3 separate regions of the Homo sapiens genome follow, and all the other regions are linked to region 1. The links are contacts of gene promoters, found by promoter capture Hi-C in blood cells and fetal thymus (Javierre and others, 2016). All regions are on one chromosome and are shown on one strand. Each heading gives the region's core, a stretch centred on a gene start or on the middle of the fragment in contact. The rest is flanking DNA. Distances are from core to core; before and after follow the strand shown.

Evidence for each region. Contacts are between HindIII fragments. The CHiCAGO score rates a contact against its expected background, and 5 or more counts as called.
Region 2: the fragment with the promoter of DHX58 here is called in contact with the fragment with the promoter of CAVIN1 in region 1 in 1 of 17 cell types (fetal thymus); the score reaches 6.0 in fetal thymus.
Region 3: a contact is called between a fragment that was not itself captured here and the fragment with the promoter of CAVIN1 in region 1, in 1 of 17 cell types (activated CD4 T cells). The highest score is 5.1, in activated CD4 T cells.

Annotation. Positions count from the first base shown.
Region 1 is chr17:42,421,303-42,424,859 of GRCh38, reverse strand. It overlaps CAVIN1 (caveolae associated protein 1), which reads left to right and starts at 1,604. Exons shown (of 2, transcript NM_012232.6): 1 at 1,604-2,233. The coding sequence starts at 1,763. It overlaps LOC102725238 (a long non-coding RNA gene), which reads right to left and starts at 1,672. Exons shown (of 4, transcript XR_007065758.1): 1 at 1,588-1,672. The HindIII fragment of the contact is 2,664 bases long and covers 1,115-3,557 here.
Region 2 is chr17:42,110,932-42,114,488 of GRCh38, reverse strand. It overlaps DHX58 (DExH-box helicase 58), which reads left to right and starts at 1,775. Exons shown (of 14, transcript NM_024119.3): 1 at 1,775-1,884; 2 at 2,284-2,376; 3 at 2,596-2,764; 4 at 2,992-3,193. The coding sequence starts at 2,597. It overlaps KAT2A (lysine acetyltransferase 2A), which reads left to right. Exons shown (of 18, transcript NM_021078.3): 15 at 95-131; 16 at 207-270; 17 at 405-489; 18 at 647-1,378. The coding sequence ends at 840. RefSeq lists enhancers at 1,408-1,927, 2,168-2,267. The HindIII fragment of the contact is 8,851 bases long and covers 1,364-3,557 here.
Region 3 is chr17:42,128,495-42,132,051 of GRCh38, reverse strand. It overlaps RAB5C (RAB5C, member RAS oncogene family), which reads left to right. Exons shown (of 6, transcript NM_004583.4): 2 at 1,462-1,715; 3 at 3,252-3,403. The coding sequence starts at 1,550. Among named protein-coding and RNA genes, the nearest start is that of HSPB9, 7.5 kb to the right of the region's middle. The HindIII fragment of the contact is 4,670 bases long and covers 1-3,557 here.

The DNA.
Region 1 (3,557 bases), core at 355-2,854:
AAAGGTGAGTTTTAGAGAGAGGTGAGACGTGGGTTTGTGGGTTGCTTTTGTTTTTGTTTTTTTTGTTTTTTTGAGACAGAGTCTCACTCTGTCTGCACTCAGACAGTGGATTACCAACTGGCAGATTACCAACTTACTTTAGAATTTAGGAGAAATGTATTAAAGTAATTTAAATTCCTTCTACTAAGGATTGAAAAAGCTTTTGGAAAAAAGAGGAATTCTACTCTGTAGAATTCCACTCAGGCTGGAGTGCAATGGCGCGAATCTCAGCTCATTGCAACCTCTGCCCCCCGGGTTCAAGTGATTCTCCTGCCTCAGCCTCCCGAATAGCTGGGATTACAGGCATGCGCCACCACGCCTGGCTAATTTTGTATTTTTAGTAGAGATGGGGTTTCTCCATGTTGGTCAGGCTGAGGTCGAACTCCCGACCTCAGGTGATCCACCCACCTCCGCCTCCCAAAATGAGCCACTGCGCCTGGCCTAATTTTTGTATTTGTAACAGAGACGGGGTTTCACCATCTTGGGCCAGGCTGGTCTTGAACTCCTGACCTCGTGATCCACCCGCCTGGGCCTCCCAAAGTGCTGGGATTACAGGCATGAGCCACCGCGCCTGGCCTAAGAGAGGTGGGCTTTTAAAAAGGGCTTTACACCAGGCGCGGTGGCTCCCAGCACTTTGAGAGGCTGAAACCAGCAGATCACTTGAGCTCAGGAGTTCGAGACCAGCCTGGTCAAAATAGTGTACACCCCGTCTCTTAAAAAAATAAAAATTGAAAAAAATAAAAATTGAAATTAGCTGGGCGTGGTGGCAAGCGCCTATAGTCTCATCTACTCAGGAGGCTGAAGTGGGAGGATTGCCTGAGCCCAAGAGGTCGAGGCTGCAGTGAACTGTGATCAGACCGCTGCACTCCAGCCTGGGTGACAGAGTGACACCCTGTCTCAGAAAGGGGGGTTGGGAGGTGGGCTTTATTTTCCGTTTGATTGCCCATCTTAATTCTACTCTGTTAGGGCAATTCTAAAAAGAACTTAGAGGAGCTTCGCAGCCCTTCACCACCACCGTGACCCCAAATACGTTCTCTCTTTCTCCCCCCGCCCCCCACAAACAACCCCCTAAGCTTACCCCTGAGTTAGTAACCTGGTTGGGGTTGGTGATGAGGAAATCCGAGAGGCCTCTTAGAAAATATTGTAAAGGGCAAGGGTCCTTTTGTGCTCAAAATCTAGGTAAAGGCAAATACAAGATTTTGCCTATAATTTCAGAATCTCCTGGTCCACCCGGCTCCCAGATCTTGAGGATTTTCGGATGAGCAATTCAAGTGAGAGGGAAACAGAGAGCAACACTCTTAGAACCTGATTCCGTTCCTCAGCTCGCATTCCTCCGCCCGTCCCGCTCCCGCCGCCAGCGGAGGCCCTAGTCTCCCGCTCCAACTATTCCAACCATCCCGGGAAGGGTGGGGCGCTCGGCTCTTGGGTCCCCCTCCGCCGCCCCGCCTCGTCGATCTCCCCTTCTGCCCCGGTCCCTCCCTTTCTGGGGTGGGGCCAGCCAATCAGCGATCAGACTCCGGAGTTTGGCCCGGGAGCTGGGGAGCTCACCGATCCCCCGCCCAGCAGTTCTGGCCGCTGTCCCGGTGCGCACGGACGTGGCTCGAGTTTCCTCTGCTCTCCGCTCTCGCCCGCTAGCTCTCCTCCCTTCCGCTCCTGCTTCTCTCCGGGTCTCCCGCTCCAGCTCCAGCCCCACCCGGCCGGTCCCGCACGGCTCCGGGTAGCCATGGAGGACCCCACGCTCTATATTGTCGAGCGGCCGCTTCCCGGGTACCCCGACGCCGAGGCCCCGGAGCCTTCCTCCGCTGGGGCTCAGGCAGCGGAGGAGCCGTCGGGGGCCGGCTCAGAAGAGCTGATCAAGTCGGACCAGGTGAACGGCGTGCTGGTGCTGAGCCTCCTGGACAAAATCATCGGGGCCGTAGACCAGATCCAGCTGACTCAAGCACAGCTGGAGGAGCGGCAGGCGGAGATGGAGGGCGCAGTGCAGAGCATCCAGGGCGAGCTGAGCAAGCTGGGCAAGGCGCACGCCACCACGAGCAATACGGTGAGCAAGCTGCTGGAGAAGGTGCGCAAGGTCAGCGTCAACGTGAAGACCGTGCGCGGCAGCCTGGAGCGCCAGGCGGGGCAGATCAAGAAGCTGGAGGTCAACGAGGCCGAGCTGCTGCGGCGCCGCAACTTTAAAGTCATGATCTACCAGGTGAGCCCACAGGGCGGAAGGCGCCCAGAGCTCCCGCGCCCGGCCCGCGTCCCCTGCCTGGGAGTTGGGGTGGGGAGACCTGCCCGTGGCGCTGCTCCCCTCCCAGCCTGGCCCGGGCGCCCGGCAGATCCACCCTCCTTCCGGTGAGCGCGGCTGGGGTGGGGTTGGGTGGGGTAGGATGGGGTGGAGGGAGCGGCGGACTCCTGGGGCGCGTAGAGGGGCGCGCTCTGCACCTCGCACCTCCCCACTCAGATCCTTCCCTCGGGTCCCAAACTTGTAGCAGAACCGAATTAGCGGGTGGACTCGAGGACGCTGCCCCTCGCAGACCGCTCCCTCCCTAATTGGCTCTGTCAAACTTCTTCCTACTTGGGGGAAGTTTCTAGGAAAGTCAGGGGTCCCTCGCGATCGTTGGGGTCCGCTGTAAGCGGACACTGGCTGCGGGGCCCGGGCCTGGGGCCTCTGCGCCTGCGGGCCTGATATAGCGGGTGATTCAGGGCTCAGGCACGCACCAGCGGGGGCTGTGCCAAGCGGGGAACGCGACCGCCAACCTCCTCCCCAGACCCTGCGCCCCCGCGCCCCCACATCGGCCTCGGCGGCCCACCCCTGTCCCCTCGCTGCTCTCTGCTCCTGGCCACCAGGCATTTTCAGGCCCTTGAGGACACCCTCACCCGCGGCGCGCTGGCACCCTGGGCCTCCTGGAAGCGGGCGGGGCTGGGCGGGGAAGAGTGGGCGTCAGGAGTGCAAGAGGGGCTGGTGGAGTGGGTGGACAGCCCCTGCGGGGTCCGGCGGTCTGGGCGCAGTCTGGGCGAGGTGAATCACCCCGCATGCCTGCGGGGGCGGGGGCCAGGCGCAGCAGCGCAGCCGGCGGGAGGAGGCTGGCGCCCCCACCCCCCGGCTCCGCCCGGGGCCACTTGTTGCTTTCTTTGCAGCTCTCCCCATTCTTCACACTTGGATAAAAATGTAGCTTTTGGATCATAACCCCCAATAAACCTGGGAGTCTCGGGTTTCTATGCTGCTCCTCTCCACGCCGCTTCCGCAGTGCCATCGGGGATGAGATTTTGGGCTGGGCGGCAAGTGTTCCAGCCTGGCTCCTCCCCGCCTCCCAAAGGCCTGCTGATGCTCCTAACCCCAGGGAGGCGGGATCGTGTGGGGCAGGGGGGTTAGTCTATGCTCCCCTCTCCCCTTCCTCTCCCTGCTGAAGGGAATGGAAAGAAAGGGAAGGCTGGATTTCCCACACCCTCCAAGTTAGAAGACCCCTTTCCGGGAGTTGTGGCTCTGCTGACTGCTCTGGGGCCTGGTCGAGCCGGGTTCTGAGTGACCATCT
Region 2 (3,557 bases), core at 526-3,025, 310 kb after region 1:
TAAGCAGGGGTCTCAGTTGCAGGGTAGTGGGGGCACGATGCTTGGGGTGTGGACTGGCATTCTTAGAGACATTCTCCCACTTCCCACTTTGCAGGAGAGACAGGCTGGAAGCCATTGGGGAAGGAGAAGGGGTGAGTGTCAAAGGAGCCGGGTTGGGGGTGGGGCAGAGGGACTTGGAGCCTCAGACTTGGTGTCTCTCGCCCCAGGAAGGAGCTGAAGGACCCCGACCAGCTCTACACAACCCTCAAAAACCTGCTGGCCCAAATCAAGGTGGGGAGACCAGGTTTCCTTTCCAGGGCCCCTGCACCAATGGCTGTGGCCTCTTGATGCAGTGTGGGGTGGGTAGTGGTCTCGGGCTGGCGTGGGCGCAGCAGGGCTGTCCCCAGCCCGGCTCTTCTCTCCAGTCTCACCCCAGTGCCTGGCCCTTCATGGAGCCTGTGAAGAAGTCGGAGGCCCCTGACTACTACGAGGTCATCCGCTTCCCCATTGGTGAGGACCTTCCATTCCATCCCCTTCCCTCCTCTTCTGTCCCCACACCTGCTCCTGCCCTCACTGCGCCCTGCAGCCCCAGGGGGCCCACCCTGGTGGACAGCCCTGCCGTGGTCTTCAGCCTCTTAAAGCTGTGCTCCGTCTCCTGCTGCCCCAGACCTGAAGACCATGACTGAGCGGCTGCGAAGCCGCTACTACGTGACCCGGAAGCTCTTTGTGGCCGACCTGCAGCGGGTCATCGCCAACTGTCGCGAGTACAACCCCCCGGACAGCGAGTACTGCCGCTGTGCCAGCGCCCTGGAGAAGTTCTTCTACTTCAAGCTCAAGGAGGGAGGCCTCATTGACAAGTAGGCCCATCTTTGGGCCGCAGCCCTGACCTGGAATGTCTCCACCTCGGATTCTGATCTGATCCTTAGGGGGTGCCCTGGCCCCACGGACCCGACTCAGCTTGAGACACTCCAGCCAAGGGTCCTCCGGACCCGATCCTGCAGCTCTTTCTGGACCTTCAGGCACCCCCAAGCGTGCAGCTCTGTCCCAGCCTTCACTGTGTGTGAGAGGTCTCCTGGGTTGGGGCCCAGCCCCTCTAGAGTAGCTGGTGGCCAGGGATGAACCTTGCCCAGCCGTGGTGGCCCCCAGGCCTGGTCCCCAAGAGCTTTGGAGGCTTGGATTCCTGGGCCTGGCCCAGGTGGCTGTTTCCCTGAGGACCAGAACTGCTCATTTTAGCTTGAGTGATGGCTTCAGGGGTTGGAAGTTCAGCCCAAACTGAAGGGGGCCATGCCTTGTCCAGCACTGTTCTGTCAGTCTCCCCCAGGGGTGGGGGGTATGGGGACCATTCATTCCCTGGCATTAATCCCTTAGAGGGAATAATAAAGCTTTTTATTTCTCTGTGTGATTGTTTCTTTGGTGTAGTCCCAGCCTTAGCAGGCTCACCTTGGCCCCCAGGGACCTCTTGCAAACTGGAGGCTGCTCTCCCCAGCAAGCCTCAGGCCTGGTCCTGTGCTCCTGGGGTGATGGGTCCTACCTGCCTGCAGCCCCCCACCTCTCCCTCCTCCAGGCTGCTCCTGATCCAGATGCCAGGGCAGCAGGGGTCAGAACCTCCTGCCTTCACCTTAACCTGGGTGGATGTGGTTACAACTGACTGCAGAAGGGCCAGAGCGTAGAGGATCCTGTAGCACTGAAAGAGTGCTTCCCTGTTAGCACACGTGGTTCTTTTTCTTGGGGCAGGGATAGGAGATTCGTAAGTCGGCTCAGCTGGCTCCTCCCCTCAGTTTCAGTTTCCATTTCTGATTTCTGCTCTCTGCGCTGAGCACAGCGGCACCAGGCTGAGCTAAGCAGGGCCGCCTTGGGCAGGCCTACGTGGTGGTGCAGGCGAGACCCAGGCTGGGCAAGGCGCAGGTGTAGCCTGTGTTACTCCCACCCCCCCCCACCCCCACCTTTTGGCCACAGCAGGCTTCTGATGAGTTTTGAGGGTGTCCCCCCCCCCACCTCCCTCAAGTGGGGTGGAGTCCTGGGCAAAGGGAGGTCTCTGTACCGACTGCTCTGGCCAGGAGTTGGGATGAGTGGAGGGCCCAGTGGGTCTGAGTCCCCTGCCATTCCCAGAATGGAGCTGTGGCCCTACCAATGGGAGGTGATCATGCCTGCCAGGGCGCTGGCGCAGCAGCAGTACTTAACCGGAGTTTGTACTCACGGCAGTTGGCGATGACTGTTAGCACAAACGGTTCTTTTCTCTTGGTTCTTTTTCCTGGGGCGGGGATGGGAGATTCCTAAGTCGGCTCAGCTGGCTCCTTCCCTCAGTTTCAGTTTCCATCTTGGGTCTCTGAGCTGAGCAGAGTGGCACCAGGCTGAGTTAAGTGGGACTGCCCTGGGCAGACCTACCTACTAGAGCAGGTGAGTCCTGGGCTGGGCAGGGGGCAGGTGTAGCCTGTGTTACTCCCGCCTCCCCCTTTTGGGCAGAGCAGGGTCCTGATGGGTTCTGAGGGAGTCCTGCCCCACCTCCCTCAAGTGGGGTGGAGTCCTGGGCAAAGGGAGGTCTCTGTACTGACTGGTCTGGCCAGGAGTTGGGAGGGGTGGAGGAGTCGGTGGGTCTGAGTCCCCTGCCATTCCCAGAATGGAGCTTCGGTCCTACCAATGGGAGGTGATCATGCCTGCCCTGGAGGGCAAGAATATCATCATCTGGCTGCCCACGGGTGCCGGGAAGACCCGGGCGGCTGCTTATGTGGCCAAGCGGCACCTAGAGACTGTGGATGGAGCCAAGGTGGTTGTATTGGTCAACAGGGTGAGTGGTCTGTCCCTACCCCGCTCTCCCACCACCAAGCAGGGTCTTAGCTCTTCAGGCATCTCCCAGTCCCCACCAGAACTCCAAAGCTGCTGTGGCCATCGCTAAGCTCACCTGTCTTTCCACCCTGGCTCAGTACCCAGCCATGTCCTGCGGGTCACCTTACCGCCTCCCTACCCCTGGCCCCAGATTCAGCTCTCTTTTCCCAGCTCATTCTCCACCCCCAGGTGCACCTGGTGACCCAGCATGGTGAAGAGTTCAGGCGCATGCTGGATGGACGCTGGACCGTGACAACCCTGAGTGGGGACATGGGACCACGTGCTGGCTTTGGCCACCTGGCCCGGTGCCATGACCTGCTCATCTGCACAGCAGAGCTTCTGCAGATGGCACTGACCAGCCCCGAGGAGGAGGAGCACGTGGAGCTCACTGGTGAGGGCCATGGCCGGGAGGAAAAAGATACGCATCTGGGGTACCTCCTTTCGCCAACCCCAGGGCACCTCCTGGAGTCAAGGTGTTGGGAGTTTTAGTGGGAGTGAGGGGTTGCCTGTTCACAAAACCCCTGCAGGCACTCTAGTAGAAACAGGCCGGGCTATCGTGTAGGATCTTAGGCCAGTCCCTTCCCCAGCTGAGCCTCGGTTTACTAATCTGTGAAATGGAAAGAAGTCTTCCCTGCCTGGCTCCTCATCCTGGGACCAGCTGCAGGTTGTGAAGGGAAGAAGGAATTCTTACATCATTGTGGGGACTACTTGAAAGCTGATGGGAGGAAGGGCTTTGCAAACATAGGTCACAGCCT
Region 3 (3,557 bases), core at 319-2,818, 290 kb after region 1:
CTTCCCTTGCTCAGGGGCAGATCGGGGCTCTCCCTGGGATCTTAGACTCCATTATGCAAAGGGCAGCCTAATAAAAACCTTTTCTTTCCAACCCAGGTTCAAATGCTGAACAGTGTTCAGTACTTAATACCTACTCACAGGACCTGTTTGTAAAACATTCTGTATATATTCTGATGTCTGTTGACATCAGATGTATATGTCTGATGAGACATCCACTTATGTCTTCTAGAGGCTTCTAGAGATAGGCTCCTCATGTGTCTGCAATTCCAAAACTTAACAAAAACAAAAAGTTGAGCCTCTGAAGCTGTCACTAACCAAGTGATTCAGATGTCGGGACTGGAACACCAGCTGTTGGGGATGCAGGACTTGGTCTCTGCCCTCCCACACCTCCTGCCTCTTCTTTCTCTCCATCGCCCCATCTCTGCCAGTAGAGAATGGAACTGAGGTCTCTATTGAAAAAGGGAAAGTTGGTAGCTGTGCTGACTGTGGCAGAGCTATGACTTTGGTGTGTGTTTCTGTGTGTGTTTGTTTCGGTGTGTGTTTTGTTTTGGTGTCTGTTTTGGTGTGTATTTCTGTGTGTGTGTTGGCATGTGTTTTTGTGTGTGTGTGTGTGTGTTTCAGTGTGTATTTGTTCCGGTGTGTGTGTTTCTGTGTGTGTTTGTGTGTGTGTATCGGTGTGTGTTTTACTATGTGTTTGTTTCTGTGTGTGTTTTGTTTTTTAATGGGTGCGAGACTTTGGCCCATCAAAAATGAGAGAACTAGGGAAGAAGGATCAGGATGAGAGAGTGAAACATTGCTTTGATTCTGGTGCACAGAGGCACACAGTCCAGCCCTAGACTGAAAGTCGGTCAGTCCTTCTGAAGGTGGCAGGAGAAAAATGGCTATGTTAATAACAACTTGTGCTGGCCAGGCCCTGGTCCCTGAATGGCCATGAGGTTGGCCAAGCACCTTCTCTGAGGAGCTTTCTACCAGGACCTCTTGGGCCCCTGTCTGCCTCACCACTGTGGTCCTGGCTACCAGACTGGAACTTCATTATTGATCTAAATCCTAGTGTCTTCCTGAGCTTTTGTTTTGTTTTGTTTTGTTTTAATTTTGCCCCAAAAGCCTGTTGACTTAACTGTCACCAGGCTGTCACACATTCATTCATCGCCTGTGTGTGTTTATTTGTAGGTGAATGTACATATTTGGGATCCAGAAGTCAATGTGTTTGCTCAGAACCATGAGCCTGAAGTTGGGAGACCATTCTCCTCTTTACAGCTCAGATGGTGGTAGAGCCGGTAGACATCTAGTATAGCCCAGTGGGGCCTCCTGACCTCTAGTGGGGAGGGCAGGGAGGTGAGGTGAGGGGAAGCAGTCAGCTAGGTCTTCAGTGAGGCCAGAGGGAAAGATCTGTAATTTAAGAAGGACACAGCGGGTGACGGCCTCTGAACTAACTCAGTACTTCTCATTTCTCCCTTACAGTTGGAGGTCCCCCTCCCCACTAAGTGCCTCTTTGCATAGCACCAGTCCCCACCCGCACGCTCTCTGGACCACTACAGCTGGACGGGCAATGGCGGGTCGGGGAGGCGCAGCACGACCCAATGGACCAGCTGCTGGGAACAAGATCTGTCAATTTAAGCTGGTTCTGCTGGGGGAGTCTGCGGTAGGCAAATCCAGCCTCGTCCTCCGCTTTGTCAAGGGACAGTTTCACGAGTACCAGGAGAGCACAATTGGAGGTGAGTGGGCATGAGGGAGTCGGGGAGGGGCCTGAAGGTTGCCAAAGAAATGCTTTGACCTTGAGGAGATGGGAAGCTGCCTGCCTGCATTAGGGACTAAATGCGTCTGTGGTGGCAGCCCCACTTCCTCACCTGGGCCCTGGAATTGAGCCCAGCAACTGGTCTCCATGCCAGAGTCCCCTCAAGCATCGCTAGTAAGCATTTGCTGGGAGTGGAAAGCTAGCTTCCCATCCTGTTTCTGCCCCTTCTTGATCTGTGTGGCCTTGGCTGAGGCCCTTTCACTGCCCTGGCCTCATGGAGGGAGAGCTGACTCTGGATCTTTGAGGCCCCTTCTTACTATAATGGGTGGTCCATGTGCCCTGGCCTTTCCCACTTCCAGAAGAAGGAACAGCCTGGTGAGTCGGAGCTGGGTGATAGGTGGGTGTTTCTGAAGCTGACTTTACCCTTTCTGGAGCTCACAGCCTGTTGTTGATTTTCCAGTGGTCAGCATTTAGGATGTGAGTGAGGGTCTGGCCTCGGCCTCTTGCCTCCGTGGCTAACACACACATCAAGAGGCAGGGGCCAACGCTGGCCTTGGCCTTGAGTCATCCTTTCTCTACTCTCTTGGTAGGAGGTTTCTAGGCAGCTGGAAACAAAATGGGCCATGTCAGCAGTCTCCCTGCTGCCTCCTCAGCATTTGGGTCAGGAGCTGGAGAGGGGAAGTGAGGCAGTGCCCCATGTCCCTCAGTGAGCTGGGGGAGGGCAGACCAGGAAAGCAGCCTTCTACACATGGCTGTCCTGGGTTCTCTGCTGGGTCCAGGGGCAAAGGGGCCTTTTGCTGTCTGTCCCAGCTCTGGACTCCTCCTTTGAAGCATGTGTACAGGCACCCTGCATTCCCCTAAGGAGTCACCTCTTAGTGACTGAAGGTCAGGTCACAGGGTGGCCATACAGGAACAGGTCTGGGTCAGAGCTAGGGGCGGTGGCTAGCTGGAGTGCCTGGAGGTGGTAGGGGTGGTTGGGAAGCCGGCCACCCAGCCTCAGCCTGGTGGTGGAACAGTGTGTACTTCCCCAGCATAGCTAAGTGTGTGAGAATGTCCTTAGGAAACCCAAGGTCAGTGACACCCCTGGGCTGGAGCAAACTGAGGGGTGGAGCGGTCCCTAGCTGCTGGTCTGTTCTCTGAGTGGCGGAGGAGGAGGTCTGAGGGCGCTCACCCTTCTGTGCTTGGAGTAGGCTTCCCCTAGGCTTTCCCTCTCTTGCCCCTGCTGTGTTGCTCTTCAGAGAGTGGTCCTGAGATGGCTCAGTGCATGCAGGAGTCCCTTCTCCTGCCGTTGCCTGGGCTGGGTCTGCAAAGCCTGTGCAGACCCCGTCCCCCAGACACATACATAAAAATCCAAACTCCACCCCCCACTCAGGCCTGCTTTGGCTCCTGGCTTGAGGGTTCTCTGTGCCCATCTCAGTGGTGGGCTTCTGAGTGCCAGAGCCTAGAAGCAACAGTGGGATTGTGTGGGGTGGATTCCAACTCGCTCTTGCCCATGGACGCTCCTTCTCTCTTACAGCGGCCTTCCTCACACAGACTGTCTGCCTGGATGACACAACAGTCAAGTTTGAGATCTGGGACACAGCTGGACAGGAGCGGTATCACAGCCTGGCCCCCATGTACTATCGGGGGGCCCAGGCTGCCATCGTGGTCTATGACATCACCAACACAGTAAAGATTTCCCCTTGCTTCTTCCTTTGCCCTTCATCTTCTCAAAGTCCCAGGGATTGGGTTATCAGAGCCCTGATTTCAGGCCGCTTAACCCTCTGTTCCTGGGTGGGGGGTGGGCAGATTTCCTGTTTGGGGACATTGCATCAGAATCTTT